Linked DNA regions of Homo sapiens: regions 2, 3, 4, 5, 6 and 7 are each linked to region 1. Evidence: promoter capture Hi-C in 16 types of primary human blood cells and fetal thymus (Javierre and others, 2016). All regions are on one chromosome and are shown on one strand. The core of a region is centred on a gene start or on the middle of the fragment in contact, and the rest is flanking DNA. Distances in the headings are between cores, read along the strand shown.

What was found. The method cuts DNA at HindIII sites, captures the fragments that hold promoters and counts their contacts. A CHiCAGO score of 5 or more calls a contact.
Region 2: a contact is called between a fragment that was not itself captured here and the fragment with the promoter of PABPC1 in region 1, in 1 of 17 cell types (monocytes). The highest score is 6.1, in monocytes.
Region 3: a contact is called between the fragment with the promoter of AZIN1 here and the fragment with the promoter of PABPC1 in region 1, in 5 of 17 cell types (monocytes, total B cells, fetal thymus and 2 more). The highest score is 14.4, in monocytes.
Region 4: a contact is called between the fragment with the promoter of SLC25A32 here and the fragment with the promoter of PABPC1 in region 1, in 2 of 17 cell types (neutrophils and monocytes). The highest score is 11.0, in neutrophils.
Region 5: a fragment that was not itself captured here is called in contact with the fragment with the promoter of PABPC1 in region 1 in 1 of 17 cell types (neutrophils); the score reaches 6.7 in neutrophils.
Region 6: a contact is called between a fragment that was not itself captured here and the fragment with the promoter of PABPC1 in region 1, in 3 of 17 cell types (fetal thymus, monocytes and neutrophils). The highest score is 7.7, in fetal thymus.
Region 7: a fragment that was not itself captured here is called in contact with the fragment with the promoter of PABPC1 in region 1 in 2 of 17 cell types (monocytes and total B cells); the score reaches 7.4 in monocytes.

Annotation. Positions count from the first base shown.
Region 1 is chr8:100,720,761-100,723,547 of GRCh38, forward strand. PABPC1 (poly(A) binding protein cytoplasmic 1) reads right to left here and starts at 1,328. Exons shown (of 15, transcript NM_002568.4): 1 at 631-1,328. The coding sequence starts at 823. RefSeq lists silencers at 505-614, 1,295-1,374, 1,455-2,164 and enhancers at 567-1,399, 1,454-1,954, 1,955-2,455. The HindIII fragment of the contact is 6,173 bases long and covers 1-2,787 here.
Region 2 is chr8:103,033,010-103,035,709 of GRCh38, forward strand. The region is part of intron 1 of ATP6V1C1 (ATPase H+ transporting V1 subunit C1); the gene reads left to right. Among named protein-coding and RNA genes, the nearest start is that of ATP6V1C1, 13 kb to the left of the region's middle. The HindIII fragment of the contact is 3,124 bases long and covers 1-2,700 here.
Region 3 is chr8:102,862,758-102,865,457 of GRCh38, forward strand. AZIN1 (antizyme inhibitor 1) reads right to left here and starts at 1,406. Exons shown (of 12, transcript NM_148174.4): 1 at 1,050-1,406. It overlaps MAILR (macrophage interferon regulatory lncRNA), which reads left to right and starts at 1,514. Exons shown (of 3, transcript NR_126339.1): 1 at 1,514-1,866. RefSeq lists enhancers at 1-283, 1,752-2,484 and silencers at 633-862, 1,523-1,872. The HindIII fragment of the contact is 10,250 bases long and covers 1-2,700 here.
Region 4 is chr8:103,413,821-103,416,520 of GRCh38, forward strand. It overlaps SLC25A32 (solute carrier family 25 member 32), which reads right to left and starts at 1,287. Exons shown (of 7, transcript NM_030780.5): 1 at 964-1,287. The coding sequence starts at 1,117. It overlaps DCAF13 (DDB1 and CUL4 associated factor 13), which reads left to right and starts at 1,566. Exons shown (of 11, transcript NM_015420.7): 1 at 1,566-1,696. The coding sequence starts at 1,627. RefSeq lists enhancers at 953-1,574, 1,308-1,647. The HindIII fragment of the contact is 9,226 bases long and covers 1-2,700 here.
Region 5 is chr8:98,107,719-98,110,615 of GRCh38, forward strand. It overlaps RIDA (reactive intermediate imine deaminase A), which reads right to left. Exons shown (of 6, transcript NM_005836.3): 2 at 928-1,033. Among named protein-coding and RNA genes, the nearest start is that of RIDA, 8.0 kb to the right of the region's middle. The HindIII fragment of the contact is 5,866 bases long and covers 1-2,897 here.
Region 6 is chr8:102,840,892-102,843,591 of GRCh38, forward strand. It overlaps AZIN1 (antizyme inhibitor 1), which reads right to left. Exons shown (of 12, transcript NM_148174.4): 3 at 2,660-2,700. Among named protein-coding and RNA genes, the nearest start is that of AZIN1, 22 kb to the right of the region's middle. The HindIII fragment of the contact is 4,465 bases long and covers 1-2,700 here.
Region 7 is chr8:102,821,265-102,824,189 of GRCh38, forward strand. No RefSeq gene overlaps it. Among named protein-coding and RNA genes, the nearest start is that of GASAL1, 16 kb to the left of the region's middle. The HindIII fragment of the contact is 2,997 bases long and covers 1-2,925 here.

The sequences.
Region 1 (2,787 bases), core at 78-2,577:
CCTAGATCCATCAGTCACTGATGAGTTCTGGGAAGTGGACTCACAAGCCTGAGGACCACCACCACACCACACATCGCCACAGGAACTTTATCCTAAGGCCTGGTGGCTCCCCCAGGCGACTGGGCCAGGAGCAGGAGCAGAAGCAGGCCTCGGGCCTGCGAGGTTACAGGGTTCAACACGTGGTATTTTTCGAGCACAGAACTGCACTTCCTCCCCAGGCTGGGGCGCCGGCAGGAGCTCCGGGTGGTGGGAGCGCCTCCACCTCTTACCCACGGAAGGAGCTCAGCGTTCAACGCCCCAGAATCCCGGGGCCACTGGCGGGAGCGCCGCGGAGGAACCGAATCTCACCCACCCTCCCGGCGCGTCATCACCCTAAAGTTTGAGAGCGTCTGAGGCCGAGAAAATGGTCGCAAAGGAGGAAGTAGCCGGGCGTGTGGCTGCCGGCAGCGCGGGTCCCCGCCGGCTCGGGAAACGCGGCTCCAGGGACCCCGGCGCCTTCCCGCCGGCCGTCGCGGGGTGACATGCCCTCCCGCCCCCCTCCCCGGGCCCGCCGGCCTACCCCGCCCGCCGCCGCCGCCCGAGCCTCATGGCCGCCCGCCCGCCCGGCCGACCGCGGAGCCCGGCGCTCACCGTCCGCCGGCTGCTGGAAGTTCACATACGCGTAGCCCAAGGAGCGGCGGGTGATCATGTCCCTGCAGACCCGGATGGAGAGGATGGGCCCGGCCGGGCTGAACTTCTCGTAGAGCATCGCCTCGGTCACGTCGGGGTGGAGGTCCCCCACGTAGAGCGAGGCCATGGGGTAGCTGGGGGCACTGGGGTTCATCTCGGCACGGCTGCCCGCAGGGCCACAGGCCGCGACCTTTCCGTGAGAGGAGGAGAGCGAGTGCCGGGGCTGGGGGCCGGAGCCGGGGGGAGGGGAGCGGGGAGCAAGCGCAGAGGGACAAAAATCAACCGGAATTGAAAACTACTCAACGGCCGCAGAACGGGGTCGATCCACTGCCGCTGGCTGCCGGCTGCCGGCGGGGAGCGAGGGTGGCGGTGTCGGGTCCGGGCAGCGGGAAGGCCTCGGTCTCTTGGTTCCTTCTTGGAGCTGCTGCGGGGCCGCGGGCGGGCGGGTCGGTCTCGGCTGCTTCACCGGGTTATTTTATAAAAGAGGAAGAAAAAAAATAAAAGTCTCCGGCGGGGGAGACGCGGATTTTTTGTAAATTTTTTTGGGGTTTTTTAAAAGATTTTTTTAGATTTTTTTTGGATTTTTTAATAATAAATGTGTGTTCCGAGCCCGGAGCACACACTCCGCACTCTCAGCACTAACCGCCGGGGAGAAGGGGAAGCACCGCCTCCTGCACCCTCTACTTATACCCCGCGCCGCACTCGCCCCGCCCCCGCGCGTCTGACGCCAGGGCCCCTACGCGAGCGTCAGCGCCGGAGTAGGAGGAGACGCGGAGGCCAGGGGGAGGAGGGAAGAGAAAACAGGAGGAAAGAGCAGAGAGGAAGGGAGAGGTGGCGGCGGTGGAGGCTGCGGTGTGGGGGTGGGGCTCGGGCGAAGGGGCGGGGCTTTTGCGCAGGCGCCGCGGCCGGGGAAGCGGAGCCCGCGCTGCGTCGCGTCCGTGGGGGTGGGGAGGACGGCTCGCGGGCGGTCCTCGGGGGTGTTGGCTGAGGCGTCCCCGCCTTCCGCCCCGCCCGCCCCTGCCTCCACCAGGAGGAGCGTTAACCCGTCACCGCGGCGGTGGGCGGTGCAAAGGGCTTCCGGGTTCCTCCGCGCTAACCACCCCCCACGTGCGCGGCCGCCTGTGGCCTCTTCCCGCTGCGGCCGGCCCGGCTCCTCTAGCCCCAGCTCCGGGGGACGCCGGGCACGGGTGAGCGGGCGTGGTCCCCTCCGGGCCCGGTTTCCGAAACGTGCGTAGATGGAGCCAGCGTGGCCCCCTGCTCTCTCCTACCCGGACCGCACTACGAGTCCCAGCCGGCACCGCCGCCACGCGCGTCGGCCGCAGAAGCGGTGCCTGCTGGGAGCTGGAGTCCCCAACGGCCGCGGCGCTCGCTGACACCAACTGGCTGCGCGGGTCCTGGCCGCCCGCTCCGGGACCCCCCAACCGTCCTGCGCGCTGGACCCCGGCACCGCTGGAGCTCCCGGCGCGGGGTTGGGGGGCAGGGAGAGAGAGGGGAGGGCCCCTCGGGTTCCTCGTCCTCTTCTTTTCCAGCCCGACCCTCCTCCGTGTCTTCACTGGACGTTGTCGTTGGTCAAAGTGGCTTTAATTTGGGATAGCTGTGTTGGGGGTCTTTGGTCACTTCTTACCTTAAGGTGCTAGGCTGGAATCATTGATTTGTGCTGCTTCTGCCAGACATTTCTTGGCGATAGAAACCAGGAGTGGAGAAAAGTGAATGTTTTTCCTGAAAGTACGGGTTTGTCACAATCACTACTATATGGCACCACAGCCCTGCAACCAGACAAAATTAGGAATAGTCTAAAACAACGTCCTTATAAATAACTAAAACAATTCTGCACATTAGTAGTGGGTTTTAATAGGAATGCTAAATTTAACGAATTGATAGTAATAAAAACCGGCTCTAGGAATGACATTAAATCAACATACAAATTCCACTCGAAAGTAGTAAAGTGCTTTTACAGTTTTTAAAGCACTCGCGTAAACATACTATCATTTGTTCCTGAGAGCAATCTGGTGTGGGAGGTGGAGCAAGTAGTAATAATTTTACTTTACTGTTACAGGAACAGTCTCAAAGAAGTTAAATGATTGCCCAATTTATTCCTTAATTCAATAAACTTTAATG
Region 2 (2,700 bases), core at 175-2,674, 2.3 Mb after region 1:
AGATTGAACTACTAATACATACAACACGGACAGATATCAAAGACTTGCTGAGCAAAAGCCAGGTACAAAAGAGTATCTAATGCATGCTTCCATTTACAAGGAAATTCTAGATCAGGCAAAACTAATCTATAGTAACAGAAAGCAGACCAACATTTGCCCAGGGCTGGCAGTGAGATAGGGATTGACTGGACTGAGTGTGAGGGAAGGTTTGGGGATGATAGAAGTGTCCTTAATCTTGGTTTTGACAGTGCTCACACAGGTGTATACATTTGTCAAAAACTCATCAAACTCTTACAATGGGTGCATTTAATTCTATATAAATTATATTTTAATAAAGTTGATTTTATAGAAAAAACGGGAAGTGAGGGAAGCTAACCAACTATAATCCAGGTGCTTGATGTTATCTCATTTAATCCTCACAGTAATTTTTATTGAAGAATATTCAGCAAATATCTTCTGAGATTCTACCATGCTGGTCTCTGTGCCAGGTACTGAGGATAAAGTGGTGAGCAAAAACTATCATGATTTCCACTTACCGTCCTGGGCAGTTTATTTGAAAGACAGATACTAGTAAAAAGTGCTCCCCCACCCCCAGAGAAATACTACAAAGAAGGTTCTATGAGAGCATATAATACATTCATCCTTAGCATATAATATATGCTGTCATATGATATATAATGAGACACATACTACATAATATACCTTGTATAATATATAAGATGCTTTATGTGCCCTGGTTTCTTTGTAACTACTACCCCTCTAATGGGGTTTCTCTAACTACTAAGTGAGTTAATACACGTGAAGTGTTTTGACTTGTGCTAGTAGATAGGAAGTGCCCAGTAAGTGTTGGCTGCTATGAACATTTGACAGTTCTAATTGTCTAATACTGCAGGGGTACACCTATACTAACTCAGGGAACAGTGGAGTAGGACTACATATTGGGGAAGAGATGATAAGTTTGACTAGAAGTGTTGGGTTTTAGCTGCTTTTGAGACATTCAGGTGGAAAATGTCTTGTAGTCAGATGTGGATACTGGTTGAGTACAACTCTAGATGCTGCAGAGGGCCCTGGGCTGGAGACATACATTTCAGAAAGTGTCCAGCATCTAGACTAGAATTGCCTCAACTGTAGAGATCATCATCAAGAAAGGTGCTATACACACACATTCACACACACGCAGAAAGAGAAGAAGGACATAGACCTGGATCTGAGCCTTGAGAAACTACGATTTAATCAGGGTGCCTTTTTGATCATCATCTCCTCTGTTTAGCATATGATTTTGCTACATTTAGGCCTGACTTCCTTCGTATTCAAGATAAAATAAAGGGAAATAATTACGAGTAAAAACAAGCAGTGGAGAAGGTGGTGTCAGGTTCTTGGCAAGTTGATAACAAATGGCCACTAATTTTGACAATTTGTTTCCTTGCAGCTGAGAGAAAAAGGGAAATATGTTTAGCAATATGGATTCCATTTTCCGATGAATAAAGACATACATATTCATCTGCAAAGATAAATTTTGTTTGAAACTAAACTTAAATTGTTCTTAAATTTCAAGGATAATTTTTTTTTTTTTTTTTGAGATGAAGTCTTGGTCTGTCACCCAGGCTAGGGTGCAGTGGCTCCATCTTGGCTCACTGCAACCTTTGCCTCCAGGGTTCAAGTGATTCTCTTGCCTCAGCCTCCCGAGTAGCTGGGATTACAGGCGCATGCCACCATGCCTGGCTAATTTTTTTGTATTTTTAGTAAAGACATGGTTTTGTCATGTTGGGCAGGCAGGTCTTGAACTCTTGATCTCAGGTGATCTGCCTGCCTCAGCCTCCCAAAGTGCTGGGATTACAGGTGTGAGCCACTGTGCCTGGCCTCAAGGAGAAATTTTTTTACCTGACTTGTGTAAGTGACAAGTTGAGAGCGGTCATAGTTTAAAAATGGAAAAAACAGATTTTGCAAAATACTTATGATGTTAACTGTCATAGGAAGTTGTTACATTCCTCCTTAGGTACTTAAGTAGCTTGTCTTTCCTGTTAGGCTCTTTACTTAGAGTTAGTTTGCTTTGACGAGGGGTAGAAGAACTGAGGCCATGGCTTTGCCTGAAGTACAGATAGGTTCTTTATCAAACCCTCTTTTTTATATTTTTGACTTTATTCACCCTTGACATAAAAGACAAAGGCTTACTTAGGAACCTGCAACTCTACCAATTTTTAATTTTTACTGTAAAATAAGGGTTTTCTGGAAGACTAAAAAACACTTTTAAAAAACATGATTTTTTTTGCGTTTATCTCTAAATCAGACGTTTTGATTGGTTCCATCATTGTTGTATTTGAATTTGAATTTTATTTATTAATTCAACAGGCATTTATTAAGTCCCTGCTATTGCCAGGAATTTAGTGTATTCTGGCTCTCAGGGTTTCACAGAGAAGAAGATATGATTCTAGCTCTTCAGGATTTCTCAGTAAGGTGGAGAGGAAAATATGTTATAAAAATGAGGGAGAATACGATGAGTGCGTAGTAGGGGCATTTATAAAGTATAAGTAAGCAAAGGATATTTCTCATCTGGGATACGGGGGAGAGTCTTGGGAGGTAGGATGGGGTGGGGCAGCAGCTAATACAATCATCCGCAGGAAGGGCGGCCGCATGGAAAGGGGAAGGTCTAGGTACATTATTTTATTCATACTTTCCAACAGCTGGGTGAAAAGATGTGTC
Region 3 (2,700 bases), core at 156-2,655, 2.1 Mb after region 1:
AACTAATATAACCAAGATGCCACCACAAAATTCAGTTAAATGTGCTGAAACATGAGGCGGTAAACTGTGTCCCCGACTGTTTCGGGTTTCTGAACCAGCAGCTTTGTCTACGAAACACACATTCAGGATACCGTGTAAGGGTTAGAACATGTTACCACCACCAACTGTTGGCAGTCAAGACAGTAGTTGATAAGCCACCCGTCTACCAATCTCCCTCTTTCTGCCTAGGAACCATGGCGCGGACGGAAAAACGAAGCCATGGTGACTAATCCTCAGGCTCCAGGAGGTGACTGGGGTGAGTGAAGGCGACTTGACCCAATCAGGAGCGCCGCAGGGGCGGAGCAGCAGCCTCGAGGCTTCCAGAAGGGGCCAAAAGCCTCTCGCTGGCTACCTGACACCGGGGCTTCCCCGCCGCCAGGCCCCAAGTGGCGTCAACTTTCCTCCACCAGAGGGGGACCGCGCTCCCCGCGCCCCCCAGGAATCCGACTTCCTCCGCAGCTGTCACCAGAGGCCGGCGCGGGGCCCGCCCCGCTCCATTCATAACCAGGACCCCAGCCGTTGCAGCCCACAGCGCCGCCCGCCCGCCGGGCTTCGGGAGGCAAAGGTGGCGGCGGCGCACCGCGGAGTAGGGGCTGCGGGACCCCGGCCCCTCAGGGCTGCGGCCGGGCCCCCTCCCCGGAAACAGCAATGCACCACGGGAGAGGGGTGGGGGCCGCACGCCGCCAGGAGGGGACGGCGACCCCCGGCGGCGAGACCCCCGCGCGCTCCCCCACTGGCACACGCCCCCTCGCCCCAACTGCTGCGGCTCCGGCTCCGCCAAGCGTCCAGCAGCCGCCCGAAGGTCCTGAGGCGCGGCCCGCCGCCCAGCCCCGCCGCCGCCGCCGCCGCCGGGGGCACAGACAGCCGCCGCCGCCATGTTCGAGGCGGCCGGCCGCGGGGCGCTGCGGGGACGTCTTAAGGGCGGCGGGGCCCAGCCGGAGCCCCCCAGCCGCCCCCCAAGGCCAGCCCCGCGTCCTGGCCCCTCCCGCGCTCCTCGGCTCGGTACTCACGTGAGATAACGGCCCAAAGAGTCGGGTAAAGCGTCTTCTCTTTTTCGGCGGAATTTTTAAAGAGGGATGTGGTTACCTTGAGCAGAAATACCCAAGGCGGCCTGGGCCATAGGCTGCGGGAACGACTTGGGGGTAAAAGCGCGGCACCGACACCAGCTGTGTGCAGCAGTGGCGGCGGCGGCCGAAGGAGAAATAGAACAGCGCAGGCAAAAGAAGAAAGGCGCGGGCTGGGTGGGAAGAGGATTCGGACTCGTCACACTGCAGAGCAGCAGAGCGAGAAAGGATGAGAAGAGGCAGAGAAGGCGACGGCAGAAGAAAAAAGGAAAAACTGCGGCCGCGATCAGAGCCTGAAAGTGTGAGAAGGCGGCGCCAGCGACGCCAGTATTTATATTAGGGGGCGTGGCCTGGTGACATCACAGCTGGCCGGGCAGCCGCGCGAGCGGGGCGGAACCCGGTTGCAGCCCGGAGAAAAGGGAGGGGGACGGAAGAGGAAGGAGGACTGAGCCCGGGAGAGAGAGGGGAGGGGTCGGCGCGCGACCGGGTCATGCAGGTGCAGACTGGCCGGTCGCTTCCCGCCCTCCAGCCACCCGCAGCTCCCCGGCAGGCGAAGGGCGGCCGCGCGGGTGTGGGCCGAGAGAGGGAGGCGGCTCGGCTGGAGCGCGCCGTCCGCCCGACCCCCGCCGCCTCTCGGGCGCCTGCGCTCACGCTGCGGGGCCCAGCGCATTGTGAGCCGGGTCGAGCTCCACGCTGGCAGCGTCTGAGAGCTGTCCTGGGCCGGAGGTGGCGCGAACCCTGTGCGGCCTAGAGTGGGCCTGGGGTAAGCCTGTCGGCGCCGCTGCCGAGCCTTCGCGTCCAGCTCCCTCCGCTTTGTGAGGCCTGTAGTTTACCCTGGGGAGTGTCCTCCCGGGCTGAGGCGCCCGCCCTCGGTGATGCGGTACTCCTTTAGGGAAGCGAGTTCCTCGTGGCCAGAAAGGACCGGCCCAGTGTCCGGGTGTTAAAAAGGGTTGTGACCACGTGAAAATGTCCTCAGTGCTCGAACGTTGCAATACGGTGCAGTGGAAATTTTTTAAAGGAATATGGCTTTTATGTCTTCATTTTTAAAAGGATTGGTGGAGTCAGTCCCAAGCAGGACCCGCGTTGGAGAGGGGATTACTGATGTTACAAGCGCACATTACTTCAATCCCCTAGGTCTCATTTTCGCGGTCGTTTTAATTTTTCTACTCCACAACAGACTTTTTTTTACTAGGGGTTCTAAGATTACCTACATAGCTTTTAATTTATTTTCATCTTTTTTAGATGCCTCAGCACTAATGATCATGATCAGAGACCCCGAGTTCTCTCGTGCTGCTACGCTTCGCAACACATAGCACAAATGGAATATGTGTTGACACACCCCTCTGAAGTTAAGATCTTTGATATTAAGACCCTGACTTTTTTCCCTTTCATTCTTCCGAACCCTCTGTGTACTTTGAGCAGCACTGTGGTTGATTAATAAATCATCAAATGTGAAAGGAAGAAAGCGACCTTCCTGTGTGGAAAAGCAGGGTATCTTGCGAGGCTGTATGAGAGAGTATTCGGTAGAATCAGGAGCTGTGGACGCATTCCTGATTTTGTTTTTCCTTATTTTGCTCGGCTATATCTTGGCTCTGTC
Region 4 (2,700 bases), core at 37-2,536, 2.7 Mb after region 1:
AAAGATACACATGGCCATCAGTAATGTAGAATTTTCTTAACGGTTTACCTGTATTTATATTTTGTTTTTGTATTTCTTGATTTTATGTTGTCTAGAATTACCTTTTATATGACTAAGTCTAACGCCTACAATTAAATTCTAAGTTCCCTGAAGGCAAGAACTTTATTAGATACTTCTGTAGCCCATACAGCAGTCTACAAATATTAAGAGAATATAAATCAAGTGAACTGAATTGCCTAATGCTAAAATAAACAACTTCTGTAGATTTAATTCTCAAGGCTGAACTTAACTTGTAATAACTTTATTTGGAAACTATTTTCTGCAATTTCAGTTATCAAAGATCATCTTTGAAACTCTTTCCAGACTTTAGTGTTGAGTTTAACTTCTAAAATGCTTTGTTAATTTCAACATACTCAATTCATCTAATACACTTAAAATAGTATTTCGATTCTAGCTATTTTTTCACAGAAACTTGTACCATTCTACAAATGCCAAAAAACAAACATTCAAGAGAATTCTATTCTAAATCTACTCCCAACCATTCGCTGAAGATTACGCCCTATCCCAATACTAGTCGAGCTGCCAAACCACGTGGGTATGCTAAGATTTCAAAGTTCCTCCAAGAGTGAATGATTTGCACGTGTGAGGACTAAACCTTAAAATGTGACAATCCCTTCTTTATTTTACAAATCAGGCTTTGAATCCCATCTTCTCTGCCAATGAGGATGTTTTTTCTCAGACTTCTCTACATACATGCCCCCTCTCTTAGTCTTGAGGAGCGGGGAAGATCGCAGGCCGACCCCTCCACCAAGCACCATTTCCTCAAATCTAGTTCAGGTTAGCCAACGCGGACAGCAACGCTCCCTTCAACGCTCCTCCTCCCCCTAGAACGGAAAAGACGGAGGAGATCCAGTTCGGGCTGACAGTGAGAGGATGCAGCCCGGTGTCTGGGCGGGCTCTTACCGGCGAAGCGGATCTTCACGAGGTCGAGCGGATGCAGCGCAAGGTTGGATAAGACGCCGCCGCTCACGCCCGCTATCAGGTTCTCATACCGGACGTGGCGGAATACCGTGCTCCACGCCGACGACCCGGACGCCGACTGGCCCTGGCCCGTCATAGGCTCGGGGCCCGTCGACACCACGGCGCCCAGGGCCGCGGAGGTGGGACGCGATGCAGTGGCCGCCACCGTGGCGACGGTCGCCCCTTGTGAGCGCAACCCCACCTCCGGGACCAACGAGAGGACTCTTATGCCCAAGGCGCGTGAGCGAAGCCGGAGACTCTAGTACTGAGGGGGCAAGAACGGGGCACAGACACTACGTCACGCCGGCGGAAAGCGCGATGGAGGGGAGGTCCCAGCCTCTCCCGAGTCTCCGCCCTGCCTCGCCCACAAATGCTCCAGCCCACGGACGCGGAAGCGACTGCACAGCTAAAGAACCGCCCCTTGCTAACGTTTGCCGGCAAAACTACGGAGCGGCGCAGGATCCAGTTGAGCCAGCAGGCCGCCGCTCCGCGAGTCACGTGACTGGAAGTAGTCTGGGAAAAGCGGAAGTCGCCTGTGGGAGGAGGTGGCGGTGGGCGGAACTCCTAGCGGACACCTCGTGGAGTCCGGCCGGAAGAGCAACCGAGATGAAGGTGAAGATGCTGAGCCGGAATCCGGACAATTATGTCCGCGAAACCAAGTTGGACTTACAGAGAGGTAAGATAAGTTGGTAGGGAGAAAGGGACGGTTTCCGCAAGTCGTTGGGTCTAGCCTCGGCTTTCGCGGAGTAAAGCCGGGGGAGGCTGGCACTCTGGTCTGGTTCTTTCTCAGTTACCTTTCGCTAAGGCAAACTTTGTGCTTACGGAGTCGCTGCGGAACTGGATGGATAGCAAGTAAAGTCTGTTCAAGTCCTTTTTCTAAGAATTTCCTCTAGTGGTGAGTGGGAAACAGTTGTCTATAGTGGAGAAAAATTCCAGCTGCTGCTCTGGGATTGTCTTCAGGTTCCTATTACTGAAAAGTGGACTTGAATGAGCCAAACTCGTGGGTTGAAGGGCTGAGAGTTAAACAGGCTTTTAAAACCTTCCTACTGCTCTTCTTGCCGCTTTACTACTTCACATTAGTTGTGGATGTTGGAAGAGACAAAGATGAATTTAAAAGCATCAGTTTTCTCTTACCATCCCTTAAGAAGTTTGATGAAAGAATGGTTAAATGAAATTAATTTATCCTTCCTGGTCTGTTCCCCCGTTAACATGCTAACCACTTATAAATTGTACTTTGTGATACCTAAATGACAAGGGACCAACCATGCGTAAGCAGATTGTTCTAAATAAAGAGAATAACAGGAGCAAAGGTCTTCAGGCAGGAATGAACCTAAGGCATAGAAAGAAGGGCTGTGTCATTAGTTTGAATGAGGAGTAAGCGAGATGAGATGAGGCGAAAACAGTATTTCACTATTTTGGTTGAGTAGGAGATATTATCAACATGTGTGTGAGCATTGCTAATAAGTCTCTGCTCAAAAGATGTTTACAGTTTGTCACAAGGCAGTAATGTTTCTAAAATATAAATTAGATTTGTCACTTGGATTTGGCATCGTTCCCAGTCCTTGAATCTCTGGTCCCACCTTCCTTGCCACTTTAGTCAGTCACTACGTTTCCCACAAGTGGTTTAGTATTCACCCTTGCAAATCTCAGTGCGTTTCAGTCATCTTTTTTAAGGCCTCC
Region 5 (2,897 bases), core at 339-2,838, 2.6 Mb before region 1:
TCCTGAGTAACTGGGACTACAGGCATGTGCCACCTGACTGGGTTACTTTTTTTTTCTATTTTTTTTTTGAGACAGGGTTCTTGCTCTGTTGCCCAGGCTAGAGTGGAGTGGCACAATCTCAGCTCACTGCAACCTCCGCCTTCCGGGTTCAAACGATTCTCATGCCTTAGCCTCCCGAGTAGCTGGGACTACAGGCACATGCCACCACACCTGGCTAATTTTTGTATTTTCAGTAGAGACGGGGTTTCACCATGTTGGCCAGGCTGGTCTTGAACTCCTGACCTCAGGTGATCTGCCCGCCTCGGCCTCCCAAAGTGCTGGGATTACAGGTGTGAGCCATTGTGCCTGGCCTCCCCCAACTAATTTTTGTATTTTTAGTAGAGATGGGGTTTCACCATGTTGTCTAGGCTAGTCTTGAACTCCTGACCTCAAGTGATCTGCCAGCCTCGGCCTCCCAAAGTGCTAGGATTACAGGTGTGAGCCACATCGTGCCTGGCCTAAATTATGGTTTAATTATATTTATTGGATTAAAATTATATTCCCCATTCTTATTTTTAAAAATGTTGACTTTTTACTTCTGTGGTGGTAATTTTTTTTTTTTTTTGAAGAGGGGCAGGTCAGTGGCCCTGAGAAGAAAATTTCCCAATCCATGTGGAAGTGGCAACATGTCATCTGACGTCAATAATTCAGGTTTAAGGTCACCTTAGTGTTAAGGAGGTGGAATCTCTCTTTTGGTTGTTAGATGATTCATGATCCATCAAATTTCCAACTCTTAGATCAAAAACTATGTTAAATCAAGCAGTAAGTAGTTTAAAAAACATTTATCTGTTAATCTCTATAAAACAAATCAGGCAAGTGGATTCTTAATGCTCTTCAACATTAAAAAGGTAGTAGAAAAGGGAACCTTAAATGTGGAAAATAACTTACTTGTTTAGCTTCTTCTGCTACCCCTCCTGACACAAGCTGTCCACTTGAAGGGTCCATGCCTATCTGTCCTGAAATGTAAATGGTCCTGTCGACTAATACAGCTTGACTGCAATAAACAGAAAGCTAGTGTATTTATGTAAGTATAAAACATAAAATTCAATGCTAGAAGACTTTTTTGATAGGACAGAGAAGTATAAATTGTAAAAAAAAAAAAACAGATACATTGGACTTCATGAAAATTGAAAACTTTTGTTTATCAAAGATATCTTTAAGAAAATGAAAAGGGGCTGGGTGCTGTAATCCTAGTGCTTTGGGAGGGTGAAGCAGGAGGATCGCTTGGGACCAGGAGTTTGAGATCAGCCTGGGCAACCACTCAGTCTCTACAAAAAACAATAAAAAACAGCCAAGTATGGTGACGCACACCCGTAGTCCCAGCTACTCAGGAGGCTAGGGTGATTGAATTGCTTGAGCCCAGGAGTTGAAGGCTGAAGTGAGCCATGAGTATACCACTGCGCTCCAGCCTCAGTGGCACTGAGTAACAGAGAAAGACCCAAAATAAAAAAAGGGGTCGGGGGAAGAAAAGGCAAGTCATAGATTGGGAGAAAAATATTTGCAAAACATATACCTAATAAAGTACCTATATCCAGAATATAAGAAGAACTCTTAAAAGTCAATAATGTGAAGACAAACCCAATAAAATATGAGCAAATGATACTTCACAAAAGAAAATATACAAAGAGTTAGAGTACATGAAATTTGCTCAACATTAGTAGTCATTAGAGAAATGCAAAGCAAAACCACACACTAAGACATCACTGATAAAGTAAGCATTGGCAATGATGGGGAGCAACCCTCATACATTGTCGGTAGTAATGCAAAATGGTACAGCCACTTTAGAAAATAGTTTGGCAGTTTCTTTAAAAATTTAAACATATATTTAACATACAACCCAGCAAACTCTTCTTTTAGAGACAGGATCTTGCTCTGTCACCCAGGCTGAAGTGCAGTGGTAGGATGTTGGCTCACTGAAGCCTTGACCTCCCAGGCCCAAGTGATCCTCCCATCTCAGCCTCCTAAGTAGCTGAGACTAAAGGTGTGCACCACCATGCCTGGCTAATTTTTTATTTTATTATTTACTTATTTTTATTTTTTGTAGAGATGAGGTCTTGCTATGTTGCCTAGGCTGGTCTCAAACTCCTGGACTCAAGTGATCCTCCTGCCTTGGCCTCCCAAAGTGCTGGGATTACAGGCTTGAGCCTCAACTCAGCAATTTCTTTCCTAGGCAACTATCCAAGAGAAATGAAAACATATGTCCAAAGAGTTTACGTGAATGTTCAGAATAGCATTATTTATAGCAAAAAAGCAAGACACACACACATGCACCCACTGATAGATCCAACAAAGGACTATATATTGTCTTATTTCACTTAAATGAAACCTTAGAAAAGAAAATAGCAGCAGCAGATTATTAATTGTTGTCTAGGGCCAGGGGTGATCATAAATGGGTACAAGGGAATTTTTTGGGAGTGATAGAAATATTCTAAAATTTGACTATTATAGTGGATGCATGATTCTATACATTTACTAAAACTCATGGAACACTACACTTAATTAAAATGGGTGACTTGTTTTTTTGAGATGGAGTCTCACTCTGTCACCCAGGCTGGAGTGCAGTGGCACAATCTTGGCTCACTGCAACCTCCGCCTCCCGGGTTCAAACAATTCTGCCTCAGCCTCCCAAGTAGCTGGGATTACAGGTGTGAGCCACCACGCCCAGCTAATTTTTGCATTTTTAGTAGAGATGGGGTTTTGCCATGTTGGCCAGGCTGGTCTTGAACTCCTGACCTCAGGTGATCCGCCTGCCTCCGCTTCCCAAAGTGCTGGGATTACAGTCGTGGGCCACCACACCCAGCCATTAAAATGGGTAACTTTTATAAGTAACTTATACCTCAATATAGCTGTAAAGCAAA
Region 6 (2,700 bases), core at 52-2,551, 2.1 Mb after region 1:
TATCCATCCTCCCAAGATATGATATCTATGGTATTCCGGAGACACAAAGTTTATATTTAATTTGGGAAAAAATAAGGTATTTACGGGAACCACAAGAGAAATGGGATGAAACAACAAGGTATTCAGCTTCCTTTCTTAGGCATGATGTGAGTCTGGAAAATTCTCAGTAGGCAACGAAAAACAAATTTAGGGAGCAGGGAAGCCTTGTATTTAATGAATATTCAACAAAATTAAGCAGGCTTGGGCAAACAATAGGACGATGAAAAGGGAAATAAGTTAGGAGGTCACTATAATGACATGTGCAAAGACGGATAGATAGTGGGAATGGAGGAGATGAATACCAGGATGTTATGAAGGCAAGACCAAGGTTAAATAAGAGAGGACAAACAAAAGGTGGACTGAATGACTTAGAGAACACAGAAGTGTCACCCCAGAGCCAGAAAAGAATGGGGTTGAGGAGTAATCCTCATTGAATGCTACTAAACGTGGGTTAATTTAGATGTGGGATGGAAGGAATATTTCAAAGATTATATCTGACCCCCGAAAAGTGTTGCAAAAAGTCAGAAGAATAAAGTTAAGTGATAAAAATGATCATCAGAATTTGACTAGGAGCTTCCCAGTGGCAACTGAAGAATGGCTTGGCAGAAATTGGTTGACCAATATGACAAGTTTCATGACCAATATGTCAAGTTTTAACAAGTTGAATGGCAGAGGAAGACAAAGGGATTTTTGCTAGGATGAGGGGAAGATGAACACGTCTGCAGACTTAAGGTCAAGAGAAGGAGAAAATTTTGGATATTCAATTACTGAACACCGGTAACATGAAAACAATTATCTAACAAGTTTGGTTGAATACAGGAAATTTCCTCCAATAAAGAAAGATTGTATCAGTTAAGTCTAATATATATATATATAAAAAAAAAAAAAAAAAAGACCAGGCTGGGCGCGGTGGCTCGCGCCTGTAATCCCAGCACTTTGGGAGGCCAAGGTGGGTGGATCACCTGAGGTCAGGAGTTTGAGACCAGACTGGTCAACACGGTGAAACCCTGTCTCTACTAAAAATACAAAAATCAGCTGGGCCTGGTGCTGGGCGCCTGTAATCCCAGCTACTTGGGAGGCTAAGGCAGGAGAATCGCTTGAACCAGGGAGGCCGAGGTTGTAGTGAGTTGAGATCGCACCACTGCGCTCCAGCCTGGGCAACAAGAGTGAAACTTCGTCTCAAAGAGAAAAAAAAAAAGAAAATCACCTTAAGTAGCAGTGAGTATATGATTCTGTAGAAGTTGACTCCTAGAGCAGCAGAGAGTAAGTACTCAGGATAAATTATCAAATTCTCAATGAACATACACAACCAAAATTATCTGAAAGTAAATTAATATCCACTGAAGAATACAACTGAGACCAGGCACAGTGGCTCACGCCTGTTAATCCAACACTCTGGGAGGCTGAGGCGGGCAGATCACATGTTGGTCAGGCGTTCAATACCAGCCTGGCCAACATGGCAAAACCCCATCTACTAAAAATACAAAAACTTAGGCCAGGCGCAGTGGCTCACGCCTGTAATCCCAGCCCTTTGGGAGGCCAAGGTGGGCGGATCACCTCAGGTCAGGAGTTCGAGACCAGCCTGGCCAACATGGTGAAACCCCACCTCTACTAAAAATACAAAAAATTAGCTGGGCATGGTGGCGGGCGCCTGTAATCCCAGCTACTTGGGAGGCTGAGGCAGGAGAATCGCTTGAACCTGGGAGGCGGAGGTTGCAGTGAGCCGAGATACTGCCATTGCCCTCCAGCCTGGGATACAGAGGGAGACTCCATCTCAAAAAAAAAAACAAAAAACAAAAAACAAAAAAAAAACCACTTAGCTGGGCATGGTGGCACAGACCTGTAATCCCAGCTACTCGGGAGGCTGAGGCATAAGGATCCTAAATCAATTGCTTGAACGCAGGAGGCAGAGGTCACAGTGAGCTGAGATCGTGCCACTGAACTCCAGCCTGGGCAACAGTGTAAGAATCCATCTCAAACAAGCAAGCAAAAAAAAAGAATTGAGGCTGGGCGCGGTGGCTCGTGCCTGTAATCCCAGCACTTCAGGAGGCTGAGGTGGGTAGATCACCTGAGGTCAGGAGTTCAAGACCAGCATGGCGAAACCTCGTCTCTACTAAAATACAAAAATTAGCCGGGTGTGGTGGTGTGCGCCTGTAATTCTAGCTAATTCAGGAGGCTGAGAGAGAACTGCTTGAGCCCAGGAGGCGAGGGTTGCACGTGAGCCAAGATCACGCCACTGCACTCCAGCCTGGGCGACAGCGTGAGACTCGTCTCCAAAAAAAAAAAAAAAAAAGAAAATTGAGAAAAATGAGTAAGAAGCCATGTACTGATTAGAAGGTTGGCTGGCATCACATCAACAGAATAAACAGAACATATGTGGGTGCCAGATGCTAAAAGGCATAGAAGGTAAAGGGCCATAGGGAGGATTTTAAAATAATGTGGATTGGAAAGAAAAATGGATCACTACTCAAGGGGAGTGGGTGTGGGGGAGGAAGGTCAAGTTAAATCAGATAGCATATGAACCAAGTACTTCTGATCAGATTACCATCTTGGAAATTAAAAAGCACTCGTTTCAGAGCTTGGAAAATGACAAACACTGTATTTGAGAAATGGCACTTACCAGGGTATGTTCATAAACATAGTTATCAATAACATTTCCAA
Region 7 (2,925 bases), core at 218-2,717, 2.1 Mb after region 1:
CCAGCAGAATCATAGAATTAGGAAAGGAGAAAACCAAACTTTGAAAATGCTCTTACTTCATTTCTGTTGATAATCTAACAGTATGGAAGGTTAGGTTTAAATCACGAAGTAATGAAATCGGAAAGGCATTACTGGGCACTAAACATAGAGAAAATGCCTTGAGTGCATTGAGACAGGTTTGTTGTGACATAAAAACACCACAGAGTAGGCAGGGCACAGTGGCTTATGCTTGTTATCATTTGAGGCCACAAGCTCAAGACCAGCCTGGCCAAACATGGCAAAACTTTTTTTTTTTTTTTTTTTTGAGACGGAGTCTCACTCTGTCACCCAGGCTGGAGTGCATGGCCGGGCAAAACTCCTTCTCTACTAAAAAAACAAAAATAGAAAAATTAGCTGGGTGTGGTGGCACACACCTTTAATCCTGGCTATTCAGGAGACTGAGACAGAATTACTTGAACCCGGGAGGCAAAGGTTGCAGTGAGCAGAGATGGCGCCACTGCCCTCTAGCCTGGTGACAGAAACTGTTTAAATAAAAATTTAAAAAGCACAGAATATATATGTTTCAAAGACTATTACCTAACTTACAAGTTAAAAGCATCCCAACTCATTACGTTTAGAAAACAAGATAGGCTGGGCGAGGTGGCTCATGCCTATAATTCCAGCACTTTGGGAGGCCGAGACGGGCGGATTACGAGGTCAGGAGATTGAGACCATCCTGGCTAACACGGTGAAACCCCGTCTCTACTAAAAATACAAAAAATTAGCCGGGTGTGGTGGCGGGCACCTGTAGTACCAGCTACTCAGGAGGCTGAAGCAGGAGAATGGTGTGAACCCAGGAGACGGAGCTTGCAGTGAGCCCAGATCGTGCCACTGGACTCCAGCCTGGGCGACAGAGCGAGATTCCGTCACACACACACACACACACACACACACACACACACACACACACACACCACTTAAATGCAGAAATTAAAACTCTATTTCTGTATATCACTATGGTAAAGGGTTGTTGGTTACCTGTACCATCAATCCACAAAAGGTATAAAACTTCATGTATTATTCTTATTATCTTGTGCTGATACCAGAGTACCTTTAAAATACCACCCAAATTTAGTTCCGAGAGGCAGATGGAGAGTTTGGATTGTCTCCAAAAATCTAAAAGGCCCTTGTTTTGACAATTAGGTTTACGCATGTGGTACATATTGAGGGGCACATAATCACTGGTGGATTGGAAATGCATACCTATCCTTGTTCCTTCCCTAACTAAAACGGCATTTAAAAGGAGCGAAACTCACCAGGATGGAGAAATCGAGAGATTAAAAAAAAAAAGCAAGCTAGAAAATGGACAGATTAGTTTATAATTTAGCAGCTTCAGGAAATGGAATACCAAGGCCAGCAGTGGGGGCAAAAAAAAACTCAGAAATTAAAAAAAAAAAAAAAACCAAAAAAAAAAAAAAATGAAGGACTTGGCAGCAGTCCAAACCCCTGGAGGTGGGGGCAAAATAAGGATTGGATGAATCTGTCTAACCACTCAAATCCCAGATCCTTTTCCCTACACTGCGCAGTTGGGCAACAGCCCTCTCTCATTTGTTCATTCTCTAGAAAAGGTAGCCCAGTCTCTGGGATGGCAGGGGTGTGTTACACTGAAAGCAGAGGCCCAACCCTCACCCTGCTGGGTTCTAGAATGCTGGTAGACGGTCTATCACCCTTCAGGCACGATACAAATTGATTGAGAATCAGCTAAGACCTTGACATAATGGCATAAAAATTCCCTAACCAATCATATGTCATACAAAGTTCCCTAACTAATCAGCTGGGACAGATCATTTTTTCAGTCGACAAACTGCACTCATGCACTCAGAGCTGCCTGTTGGCTCTTTAGTCCCCACTCAGATACAGGGAATGCTTAGAATCGTTAAGATTTACAGATTATAAAACAAGACAATTTAGGCAGGGCACAGTGGCTCACGTCTGTAATCTCAGCACTTTGGGAGGGCAAGGCAGGTGGATCACCTGAGGTCAGGAGTTTGAGACCAGCCTGGTCAACATGGTGAAACCCTCTCTAATAAAAATACAAAAACCAGACAGGCATGGTGGTGATGCATCTGTAATCCCAGCTACTCGGGAGGCTGAGGCACGAGAATCACTTGAACCCGAGAGGCAGAGGTTACAGTGAGCCAAGAGTGAGACCCTGTCTCAAAACAAAAACAAGACAATTTAGATTGTCCAGAGCTGGAGGAAAGGGGACCAAAGTGATGAAGGGAAAAAAGAACATTCTTAGCGATAAAACATATTGTTGCAACCTTGGCTCAGAAGTTTAAAATTGCCTAAGTGGAAGACAGAAGGCTTGGAATAGAGCTGAGAATCCTCCACCCCACCATACCTGGTGAAAGCAGAGCAATTTGAGAAACATAAAATAGAAAATAGATGGGAGAAAACCAATCAACTCACAGAACTAAAATTCTTAAACTTCAGCCAAGTGTCCCCTCCTCTGCATATTGCTGCTAAAAACTGAATGGGGACAAAGTTGTAGGCACAGGTACGCACCAGATGAAGTTGGGCACCATTATTTACAAATAAAGGTTAGCTGGACTCTGGGGTTAAAAATAATCTAAATAAGATATTGCAGTATCTTTAGCACATCTACACAACCCCTTTGCTCTACTGCCAATGTGCAATCACTTCATCTGTCACTCAATAGCAGATACTTAACTCTTTAATTGCCCATAACTGATCCAGTGCTAATCTTCTCAGGCCATCAACAAATCAACTGCAAAGGGTTTTGACAGACATAAGCAGTATCATGGTAGAATCAGGGTTTGAAAGACCACTTAACAATGGAATTGCTTTTAAAGCTGATGACAATTACATACATAGGTAAAGGAGTTCAGGCGTATGAAAGATGTTCTTTTTCTCTCCATTTAG